Linked DNA regions of Homo sapiens: region 2 is linked to region 1. The links are contacts of gene promoters, found by promoter capture Hi-C in blood cells and fetal thymus (Javierre and others, 2016). All regions are on one chromosome and are shown on one strand. The core of a region is centred on a gene start or on the middle of the fragment in contact, and the rest is flanking DNA. Distances in the headings are between cores, read along the strand shown.

What was found. Contacts are between HindIII fragments. The CHiCAGO score rates a contact against its expected background, and 5 or more counts as called.
Region 2: the fragment with the promoter of H2AJ here is called in contact with the fragment with the promoter of CLEC2B in region 1 in 1 of 17 cell types (non-activated CD4 T cells); the score reaches 5.2 in non-activated CD4 T cells.

What each region holds. Positions count from the first base shown.
Region 1 is chr12:9,868,104-9,873,846 of GRCh38, forward strand. CLEC2B (C-type lectin domain family 2 member B) reads right to left here and starts at 1,251. Exons shown (of 5, transcript NM_005127.3): 1 at 1,102-1,251. The HindIII fragment of the contact is 5,556 bases long and covers 1-1,365 here.
Region 2 is chr12:14,771,506-14,777,248 of GRCh38, forward strand. H2AJ (H2A.J histone) reads left to right here and starts at 2,900. Exons shown (of 1, transcript NM_177925.5): 1 at 2,900-3,519. The coding sequence starts at 2,966. The coding sequence ends at 3,355. RefSeq lists enhancers at 2,320-3,237, 2,451-2,660, 2,851-3,180, 3,191-3,350, 3,238-4,154 and 1 more. The HindIII fragment of the contact is 5,193 bases long and covers 1,289-5,743 here.

The DNA.
Region 1 (5,743 bases), core at 1-2,500:
ATACTGAATATATTATTCAGTAACTTTTAAAATATATTCATATGTAATATGATATATAATATTGTATTATATAATGTATTTATATACAAATGTATAAATTTATACAATTGATTGAAAGTAGAAAATAACACTGGTTTTACTAGTGGCTGGAAGGCCTTCTTAAAACTTTTGATTAAAATGATATTTTATGCTACCATCAAATATTGATCTCATTCCCCGCAAACCTGTTTTATCTAACTTTAGGCAGAATTATAAAACCGGTTAAAATACGGGAGGAAGGATAAAGTGTGCATTCTATTGTACCACAGCAATAATTTTTTTGACCGTAGCATACGCTGGTAGGTTGACATTTAGTTAAACGGGAAATGCTTAAAGCTCATCACAGTCCCTAAATCTCTAAATCATAGATCGTTGTATTGAATGCATTTAGTTTCAGCCTTTTCTCTTTCAAATATTTTGACATAAATAAACCCTGTTGAAATCTCAAAGATGTAGCTTGGATCTTATATATTCCGAACTTGCTATTTAATAAATCCAATGTTACCAGGTTGTTTCATAGTGTATTTTTTAGAACATTTTCTTTCCTTATCCTTCTTAGGGTTGGTAAAGACATCTCCATGGATATCGGAGTACTAGCAATTCCTTAGTAAGAGTAGGAAAGGGATATATTCTTTCCGTTAAGTACTCCTAAAGCCCGGAGTATCTTTACACCATCCAATAAAGCAATCTTTAAAAATATTAGAACTATTGGCTAAATTTATCATATTATGTATGCATTCTGAGAACTGTATGAGTATCTGGATCATATCTATCATCTTCTCAAGTATTTGTTTTATAAAATACTTAGTAAAAATGAAACTAAATCTTGAGCAGTTTTAAGTCATGGTTAATCCTTCTCCATTGTAATTCAAATAATGTAAAGTAAGTCTGAATTTATTAGGACAAAACAGTCATATGCAAATCTCAATCTTGTTATAAGAAGGAATTTTCTAGTTTCACAAAAGAAACCACAAAATTTAATTCTTTTCTCGAAGGCTTTAACATTCTGCATCACAATTTCAATAAATAACGGTCATTCTAAACAAACAAAAATGTTCTTACCGTGCTTCTTTTAATCAGCGTTTTGATTTTCTGCTAGCAGCTTTGTGTCATGTCTTGCAGAAACTCTCTTCAAAGTTGTAACTTTATTTAACTTTAATATAAAAATGTTACTCTTGTTTTTACAGCACAGCTCCAAACTAGAGGTATACCACTTTTGAAGAGTAACTCAAAGTATAAATAGCATTTTGCAAACTGGAAGTAACCATGTGACTATCTATTAGTCATACTGTTGTTTATTACAATTTTCTTCTCGTCAAAAAAGAAAGCTTGCCAAGGAGGAAGGAAGTTTGTGATATAACAATTTAAAGCTGAAGAATAAACACATATTTTCTTACTTTCTCAACTGGGATTCTCATCTGAACCACAGAACACGAAATTGCTCAAGTGGCTGTTTTTCTGATTCATCCAGGAGTGGTACTTAACCACGTATCCTTCCAGAACTGTAGGAGAGGCTGATACTAATTAATTCAACAGCATTCTTTAGGACATTACTGCTTTCTTATCCTGTGTTAAGAAAGATCACCTTAAAAGCGATAGAATCAAAGAAAAAGCAATGGTTTAAACTTTGGCTACTGAAAGAAAAACAAAAACTATTATCTCTCTCTCAAAGACAAATGCGTGCAAAGTCACACGTGTGGGTGTGAGCACACACACAAACACACACAAAGACACACAGAGGGAAAAAAGAAAACGAAAGTAACAAAGTGCCCAGAACGTTATCATCAGCATACAAGATGACACCATTATGCTTTTGCTAAGTTACCAGGCCACAATTTTGTCTTCAAATCTGCTCTAATCAGTTTCCCAGTGATTTTGTATTACCCCTCAACAAATATATTAGGGAGGAAACTGAGGAGAAGAAGCCAGTGTCCCGCAAGCGGCTTCGGGATTAACACTGCATTTGTTCTGAGAGAGAAACTTGAAGAGGAAAAGCAAATGAGAATAGAGAAGAAACTGTAGTACAAAGGAATTAAAACAAAGAAAATATGAAGAGAATAAGAAATACAGGTTTAATCATTTCTGGGCAGAAGGAAAGGACAGATAACAAAATTGCTCTTTTCATTTTTGGACAGAAAAAAAAGACAGAAAATTCATGAGGAAATGAATATATTCTACCTTTGTTGTTAACAAAAGATTGTATCCAAAGAACTATTAGAAAAGCATGTATAGAAAAATATAGAGATTACTCAAGTATGGTTGAGTGAAATTTAGTTTTGTTCCAAAAAGGAAAACAGTCAAGATACAACAGTTAAGATATAAAACATTTTCAACACAGGGAAATGTTCCCCGCTGTTGCTTTGCAGTTCATCCTCACCCCTGAAGCCAGGCAGCAGCCAACTTACTGTCAATAAACATGAGCTTTGCTGGTTTTAGAAATTCCTGTTAAGCAGAATGATACAGTTGGCAATTCTTGTAAGTCTGATGTCTTTCACTGAGCATAATGTTTTTGAGTTTTATCCATGTTTTTGCACAGATCAGCAGTTAATTTCTTTTTATTACTGAGTAGTATTTCATTGTACAGACATAAAATATTTTTATCTATTTTATAATAAAATGTATCCATTATGACATTGAGCTTTTTCCACTTCTTGGATATCATAAGGTCAAAATAAACATTTATGCAAAAGTTTTTCTATTGACACGTTTTTTAATCTTTTGAAGAAATACCTGGATGTGAAACTGCTAGGTTACATAGAAAATGTATGTTTTATTTTATAAATGTATTTTTTTCCAAAAAGTTGTGCCATTCCCAACATGAATATTGGATGGTTCTATTTGCTCCACATAAATAGCAATATTAGATATGCCCAATCTTTTTCAATTTAACCATTCTAGTAGGCGTGTAGTAGAATCTAAATGTGATTTTAATTTGTACATCTCTGATGTTATATTGAGCATTTACTCACGTGCGTATTGGTAACTCATATATCTTTTTTCAATGACCTATTTAAATATTTTTCCCATTTTTATGGATTTATTTGTTTCCTTATGGTGATTTTTAAGATTTTATATATATGTAAATATATATGTAGAGAAACATACACATAAAAATGTGTATATAAATAAGTAAAATGGGTTGCAACATAATATAGAAAAATTCCATTTTTAGATAAATGTATTAAAAATACTTTCCATCATTTGTATAGTGACTTTTCACAATTTTTTTTCTCAAAAATTTTAAAAATCTAGAAGCTTCTAAACGTTGGACTCTCTAATCCTAACAAAGTTACATGTTCTCCCTTGTCGAGGTCATGCCTTTTTCCTTAAAGAAAATATTGTGCCCTTCACACCCTCCTTACAGGAATCCCTCCCTTACTTGCCTTTCTTAGTTATTGGTCATAAGGCCAATAACTAAGGTTATGTGCTAAGCTTATAAGGGAGAGAAAGGGCTATACTCAGAATGAATTTGGACCTAACCAATATATAATAACAACAGCTTGGAGTGTACACAATGGGATTGGATTCTGAGGGTGCTAGATCATGAGAGAAACATAAAGCTGGATAAGGGAGATTTTATCAACATTAGGGCATTCAGTTGCAATACAGAATTTAATAACTTGGAAAAATACTGTGAACAGTGCTGACATACTGCTGAAATAACTCCAAGAAGATTGGAGAAAGCAATGGCTCACGCTGAGTAGAGTAACATTCCAGAATTCCCATGGCAGGTAGCTGAAGAAAAGATAAAAATGCTTAGAGAAGTGGGCATGCTACAGTGGATAAACTAGATAAGGACAGGAAACCCACCAACTGACTATGTTCTATGGGATGATATAATGGGCACCTTATTTACCAAAGCAGTAAGGAAGGCGCTGGTGGAAGAACTTAAGTCCTACATAAACATCACTGAGAAGCTTAGCATAGTTCTTCTCTACATGCCAAAGATTACAGTGGGAGATGTTCCCACAGAACTGAATTCAGAGAGAGTATTGGGACAGGGTTTGAAGTAGGAAACGCCAAGTGTCAGAGTGCCACTCTGAAACAAGCTGGGGCCAATTATAGTAATGAGGGTCAAATTGCAATAGCAGCCAGGATTACTGACATATAGAGCCATAGCAATGTCAGATAGAGCTCAATGTTCACAGAAGTAATATAGAGAGCCAAAAAGGGTGCTTCCACTTCTGTGCTGTCCTTTAACAACTGGTGGAACAGAGAAAAACACACACATAACAAGCTCTGGTTTGTAACACCAGCTGATTTCCGTGATGTAATTATTCCCACCATTGCTGATTTCAAGGTACCCAGGTGACATCACTGAACACACAGAGTTGGAAATAAATATGCAGTAGTACAGCATTACGTATTATTTTCACTATACGGATGTAACAGATGTTAATAATTTCATGCATGGATAATAGCAAAATCTTCTAAAAATCATCACAAATTGATGAGTTCTAAGTATTTATTTTATTAGCTTGGCATTAGGGCCACAATGACTCCAAATGTCATGACCCAGGTTAGGTTCCAGCCCATGCTGAGGTCTGAGGGGAGTGGGTGGATGGGCGATAGCTGAAAGAACACTTGGGGGCCCTAAGCAGGTGAAATGTAGTTTTATTTACCAACAGCGACTCTCTCACACTGTCTGCCTTTATCTCCGCTGTCTGCTCTGGCTCTGGGACTCCTGCCGCCGCCACGCCTGCAGCAGCACGCCCTGGCCTGCAAGGCCAGCTCTGTCAGGATTAGCAGCTTAACTCTTTCCCTCTGGGCACAAGCTCGTTCCTGGTTCCCCTCTGCCTGCCTTCAAGGCGACTGGCTCTCCCTTACAAGGGTCAATAGTGCTACTCTCTTTCTGGGCACCAGTGCGAGCCATGTCATGCCATGCCACGCCATGCTGAGCCAAGGCAAGCCCAAGAGCGCCTGTACAGCATCAGCAGGGCAGTTATACCTTTTCCAAACAATAGTGGATTTGAGCCAAGTATGAGCTTACACAAACAGGTTATATAACAAGTGGAGTTATATGCCTGCACTCCAAACTCATTAAGTCACTATGGCCTGGATGTCTGCCTCAGCCTACTTCTTGACCAAAGCACATTTATGCACCTTACTGTTGGTGCAAAAGTTACTTTAGATAATTTTTAAAAATAATGATGTTTAACAATTGGCTCGAGAACCCTTGAAAATTTAACAGTCAGCTGTATACCACTGACTTTGCTGGACATGTACAACGGGAAAGAAATCAAGGGTGGATTACTAGTAGGCTAAGGGCAACCATGTACTCAAAACGTATAAACTATTACCCTAATCTAGTTTGGCCCAAGCCAGTTTTCTGACAGAGGACCCAATAATGGGAGAACTCATCCTTAAAAAGAAGCCCTCTTCAACACCAAGACTAGAGTAAATGGTAAGTATTTCTCCAGTCCATCCCCAGTGCGACTTATATTAGGCTTCTCAAGCTACCATAATGAAATAACATAGGCTGGGTGGCTTAAACAACAGAAATTTATTTTTCATCATTCTGGAGGCTCAAAGCCTAAGATCAAGGTGCTAGCCAGGTTAGTGTTCAATGAGGTCTCTCTTCCTGGAGCCGACTACTGCCTTCTCACTGTGTCCTCACATGACATTTTCTCTGTGTATGTGCAGAGAGGGTATCTTTCCCTCTTTTTATATGTATACCAGTCTTATGAGATTAAGGCCTTACCCT
Region 2 (5,743 bases), core at 1,650-4,149, 4.9 Mb after region 1:
GAAAAGCTTTACATCCGAGATTTCAAAGCAATTACTTAAAATTTAAAATTTTTCACACGTGGGTCTTCTGAAGACATAGTAGGGGGAGAGGACTTTTTTCTCTTTTACGGCCCTGCAGATAATTAAAATTCTTTCAATTGAAAAAAGAAAGTGCAGCTTCCCGTCCCCCACCTACACTCCACCCCCACCTCCCCCCGACCCCCGCCATTCCCCTTTCAGCTGCTTCTGCGCAATTTGCAGGTTTTCCTGCCCTGCAAGAGCCTGTGTGCTTTTCAACCAAGTAACTTCCTGTGGTTATTTAGTTGAAATATTGTCAATGTCTTATGTCATTCAAATCTCAGGTTCTCATCTCACATTTTCCACTTAAAAATTCAAAGTTCTTGTAAAACAATGGATGCCACAATCATGACTTGGAATAATGATTTCTACTGCAAATCCCCTCAGGAGGTTCTGAATCCCTTCCTTTCTCAAGAGAATCCCTGAACAAAAACGAAAGTTTCTGTAAGGTGTCACCGCTCTTCAAAGGTGTCAGGACCCTGTCTTCTCTAAAGGTTTTACTGTGTTAAAAAGCAGCTGTTATTTAGAGGATGAGTCATAAGTCTTTCCCAGGTAGTTAATTAGGATTCTGAGCAATGAATTTTAGTAAGTGGGGCTTCTTTGTCCCTGGTCTTGAAGATAAGCCTTTACAGCAGGAAGACTTTATGGTAAAATTTTGTTATATTTATAAATGCCTATAGTTTACATTTGTTTCAATCCATGCCCATCTTCATAACCCAAAAGGTATTTATTTTTCTTTTACTTTTTGTTAAAGATAAAAGAGTTGGAACACTGTCTTGAATGGCTGGAAAAAGTCCTGAATGGTCGAACTTCACTCATGATTTTAATATTTGACTCAGAGGGAAGAGGAAAAGTCTATCAGATCTTGAAGAGATAAGAATTATTGTAATGGGGCCGGGCGCGGTGGCTCACGCCTGTAATCCCAGCGCTCTGGGAGGCCGAGGAGGGCGGATTACGAGGTCAGGAGATCGAGACCATCCTGACTAACATGGTGAAACCCCATCTCTACTAAAAATACATAAAAATTAGCCGGGCGTGGTGGCGGGCGCCTGTAGTCCCAGCTACTCGGGAGGCTGAGGCAGGAGAATGGCGTGAACCCGGGAGACGGAGCTTGCAGTGAGCCGAGATCGCGCCACTGCACTCCAGCCTGGGCGACAGAGCGAGACTCCGTCTCAAAAAAAAAAAAAAAAAATTATTGTAATGGTAAAATCGGTTGACTTACTTATAGTTAAGCTTTCTAAGAAATCAAGACTAGAACATTTTCAAATTAGAAATCTCTTGCTTATTGGAATAAAAGAAAAAAAATCGTGTCTAAAATAGTAATACTTTTAAAAACTCTTGAAAATTCCCCAAGATACAGGCAAAAATTTAAGCTAGTTTACAGAACTCATTCCAGGAACATCTCGTTAAAAACTGCATCAGAGATTTGTATGCCCATTTATTTGGTATATCTAAGAGTTATTGGATGCTTACTAACGTATTTAATTTTCAAAACACTTTGATACAGGTAGAGGAGTCAAATAACTTATCAAAGGTCACTGCTCAGTGGTAAAGCCAGGATTTAGGCTGAGGCAGACTGGCTCCGGAAAGACCGCCTAAACCATGACAATAGCTCTGAAGACATTTATTGAGTCCCCAGTATGGGTTCATCATTGTTCTAGGCAGTAATGACATATACATAAATATTTGAAAATGTTATTTCAATGAAGTCAAATCTTTATTCGGATAGTGAGAAGGTAAATTTGCTTTACTTTAAATGTAAATGAATCCACATAAAATGTTTATTTTAAAAAGCAAGCGTTCAACATTACATCACGTATCGGTGTTAACTGTGTTACTGAAAATGTTCAGGTAAAAATGAAATGACCTCGATGAATTAGGAGAAAGTAATTTTTAATTAAAACAAAACACTTGAAACACTCTTTTTGTTTCAAAAAGCATGGGTCCACAATTCAGGTATATAAGAATAAGCTGCCATTCTGACTTTAGTCTCTGGACTCATTTACAAAGAGACCCGGGGGACCTCCACGTCTTCGCAGAGGACCCGATCCGCTGATCTGTGGCGCCCTGGCTTGCGGGGAGCAAGCCAAGGCCAAGACTTTGGCCTCTCCAATAAAACCTAGTGGCTCTTTGCAGGCCCATAGCCTCAAAGACAAAAGATATTTTGGCTAGGCGAGCTTGTTCCTCCCGTCAGCACAGGAAGCATTCACGTCTGGTCATCACTCTAGCTTCAGACTCAAAAGTGAACGATTGGCTGGCTGTGAGCCGCAGGACCCTGCGGGGAGACCAGGGTGGTCTCTACACTGTTGGGTAGCTAGCTGGAGGCAAGGCGCTTGTATAAGAAACAGTCCACGGACCCTGTCCTGGGCAGGCAGAATTCCGCGGACAGGCTGTTGTTTCGCCTAAGCAGCACGGGCTGCGGAGACAGAAACCTACCTGAGTAGTACGGTGTATTATATGAGAACATCCACTTAGCATAGCAACGTCTACGGACAACCCCTGTAGCTCTTCTTCTGGATTGTTTTCTGTTTCCAACCATGTTTTCTTATTTCCTACGAGTTTATGTGCTTGGAAGCGAGCGTGGTCGTGGAAAACCCGTAACCGCTAAATTCATCTGGGTCCCCAAAGACTGAGCCGGCTGGCCTCGTTATTTATGTGAGCGGCTATGTAAATGAGGATTCGGAGATTGCTCTATTGATTGGAGAGAGCTGGAGGAGGCGGTCTCTCTTCCAGAGCGCTAGTTGGGAGCGGAGCCTGCCTGTCATTGGTCACCAGAGCCAATGGAAAGGGGCTGCCGCGCGGCCGTAAAGAGTTTGTAGAGGCAGTTCGGGTGCGGTACGTTGCATTCCGGTACCGGACGCCGAGAGCGGTTTGTCTCCGTCTCTGGAGTTGTAGGCGAGAGGTGATCATGTCCGGTCGCGGGAAACAGGGCGGCAAAGTGCGAGCAAAGGCCAAATCCCGCTCCTCCCGCGCGGGCCTGCAGTTCCCGGTGGGCCGAGTGCACAGACTGCTGCGCAAAGGGAACTACGCGGAGCGAGTGGGCGCCGGGGCGCCGGTGTACCTGGCGGCGGTGTTGGAGTACCTTACGGCGGAGATCCTGGAGCTGGCTGGCAACGCCGCGCGTGACAACAAGAAGACCAGGATAATTCCCCGCCACCTGCAGCTCGCCATCCGCAACGACGAGGAGTTAAACAAGCTGCTGGGCAAAGTGACCATCGCTCAGGGCGGCGTCCTGCCCAACATCCAGGCCGTGCTGCTGCCCAAGAAGACGGAGAGTCAGAAGACGAAGAGCAAATGACCCTGACGCCGCCCTCAGGGAGCTGGCTCCCCCAGCAAAGGCCCTTTTCATGGTCGTCCCGCAATGCTTTTGAATGTGCTGGATGTCATGGAGGGCCGGTGACATCTAGCGGGGAGGTGGGCGGCGAGGGTCCCGGCGGGAGCCAATAAAGTTGGTGAAAATCGTTTGGTCGAGAGAGCTGTGTAGTCGCGGGGACATGTCGGATGGCCCCAGGGGAGGGGGGCGACCGGGAAACCCCTGGAGCAGGCACTGGTGGGTGGGCTTGAGCCACTCTGGACGGCTTTAGTCCGCAGGTCACCCTCGAGGCGTCAGGGGAGGGTGGCCTGGAGGTGGGCAGGGTGGAAGCCACCTCGCTGTCAGTAGGGCAAAGGGGAGGCAGAGTCGGTGCGGTGAGGCCTCCTTCGGAATTATTTTTACTTCCCTTTCACAGAGCCTTCGCTCTCCTGCCAGTTTGTGAGCACTCAGGACCAAGTTCTGGGAAGATACCGTCGGATCGAGCTGAGCTCGGGGCAGGAAGTGTCTGCGGCCATATTTTTCAAAAAGTGGAGTAACTTTCCGTCTTGGAAGGGTGGCTCTGATGGCACGATGTCAACTTGAGATTCTTCCTAGCCTAGTAGCTGCTGTGCTTTCATGCTTTGGATATCAGATATCTTTATATAGCACTTTTATGTTCATATTTTTTTTTTAATGAAGGAAACGTTCAATAAGTGAGTCATGAGGTTGGAAATTCGTTCCCCTGACAGTCATATTGCATAACATTGCAGCGCCTTTAGTCGTGGGTTACATATGCTTGAGCTTTTAAAGTGATGTTGTCAAGTTTCTAGCTTCATAATGATCCTGTCTTCATCATATCATATTCACTTTGAGAATCGGTTTGACTTTGCTTTCAAACAAAACAAAAACCTCTTGCTTTTAGGGGTTCTTACCCAACAAATAACCTGTTTGAACTCTCTTATATTCTCCCACTAGCCTGAAGCAATGACCTCATTCCAGTAATGTCTTTGGGAGTTGCATTGCCTAATGGCACAATATTGCTTTAATAAACATGTAAGGAAAGATAGGACCAAATATGTAAGTGCAGGGGGAAACACATTTCAGACCAGGAATCCACATTGAAAAGTTAACACTAGTAATCATCTTCTGCCCTTAATTGACACTCCTATTTATTTCATCCTCAGCAAATTTCATCCTGGCTCACAGACCCCACAAAAAAGATCCCAGTACAGATTTCACATCTTTGGATTCATCTTTCCTGTGAGTCGGAATTGAAGTCTTCCCCAAAAATATATGTATATATTGTATGTCTTCATCCTTGGTAGCGGCTGGCCCATTTTCCCACATGGACTTTATTTTGTCCCCAGTATTTATTGAACAGCTGTCTATGCCAGGCTCTGTACAAAGTGATAGGAGTAGAGCTGTGAATGAGGCCAACCAGATTTCCACTCTCTCGGAGCTCACTTTATTTTTATTGGTTCCTGAAGACGGGACAAGGAACAAATACATACGTTAATATGAGAGATCAGCTTCTGTTAGTACTTGTACCTCTCTGCTGTGTGTGGATGAATGATGGAATTACTTCTCCCATGTTGCCATTTTTGAGGTGTACAAAGGTCAGGCCGTACACACCTCTGTTAGGAGGCAAATTATTGGGCAGGTTCGAGATGTTCTGCTATTTACTCTGTGGTTTTGTCATATGTAAAAGTCATAACACCTGTTTTAAGGATTGAGATTGTTCATTTACTGTGTGCCACATATTAGACAATAAATGGAAAAAAGTACCATGTTCAATGGGGGTATGGGTTTATCCTTATAGGTTAAATTATAGGTAAACATTAATAGGACTTTTTAAAAAATGCCTCATTGTTAGAACTACTACTCACAGTTACCACTTGGGGTCAGTGGAACAAAATGCATATATGGTTTTGACATTTGAGTCTAAATTTCTTAAAGGGATGAGGCATCTGAGGGATTGTTACCAAAATGATGAAGAAATAAGGACAAGGGACATCAAGACATTCATAAGAAAAAGCACCTTTGCCTTCCCCTGGGAAGATTCACAGGAATCTGTCCAGCTCTTGTTACATGATGAGCAACATAGACAAGATACGAGGCATTGTAACTGCCCTGTCGCCACCCGCCTCTCCCACCACTACCCAAAGGATTCTTAGCATCCCCTCACATACTCTGCCTGCCTCAACGTTCAGTCAGCCCCTCACCATTTTTGTTTTTGAGAGTTTTTTTTTTAACCCGAATAGTTTACGGGCTGTTTAAAATGCATACTCCTACAAAATCAGCTCAGCCCATGATCCATGATGAACAAACAGTAGTTCTTGCTGATGTGTGATTATGAATTTAAAAGGCCAGTATTTCTTTAAGCATAAGACCATA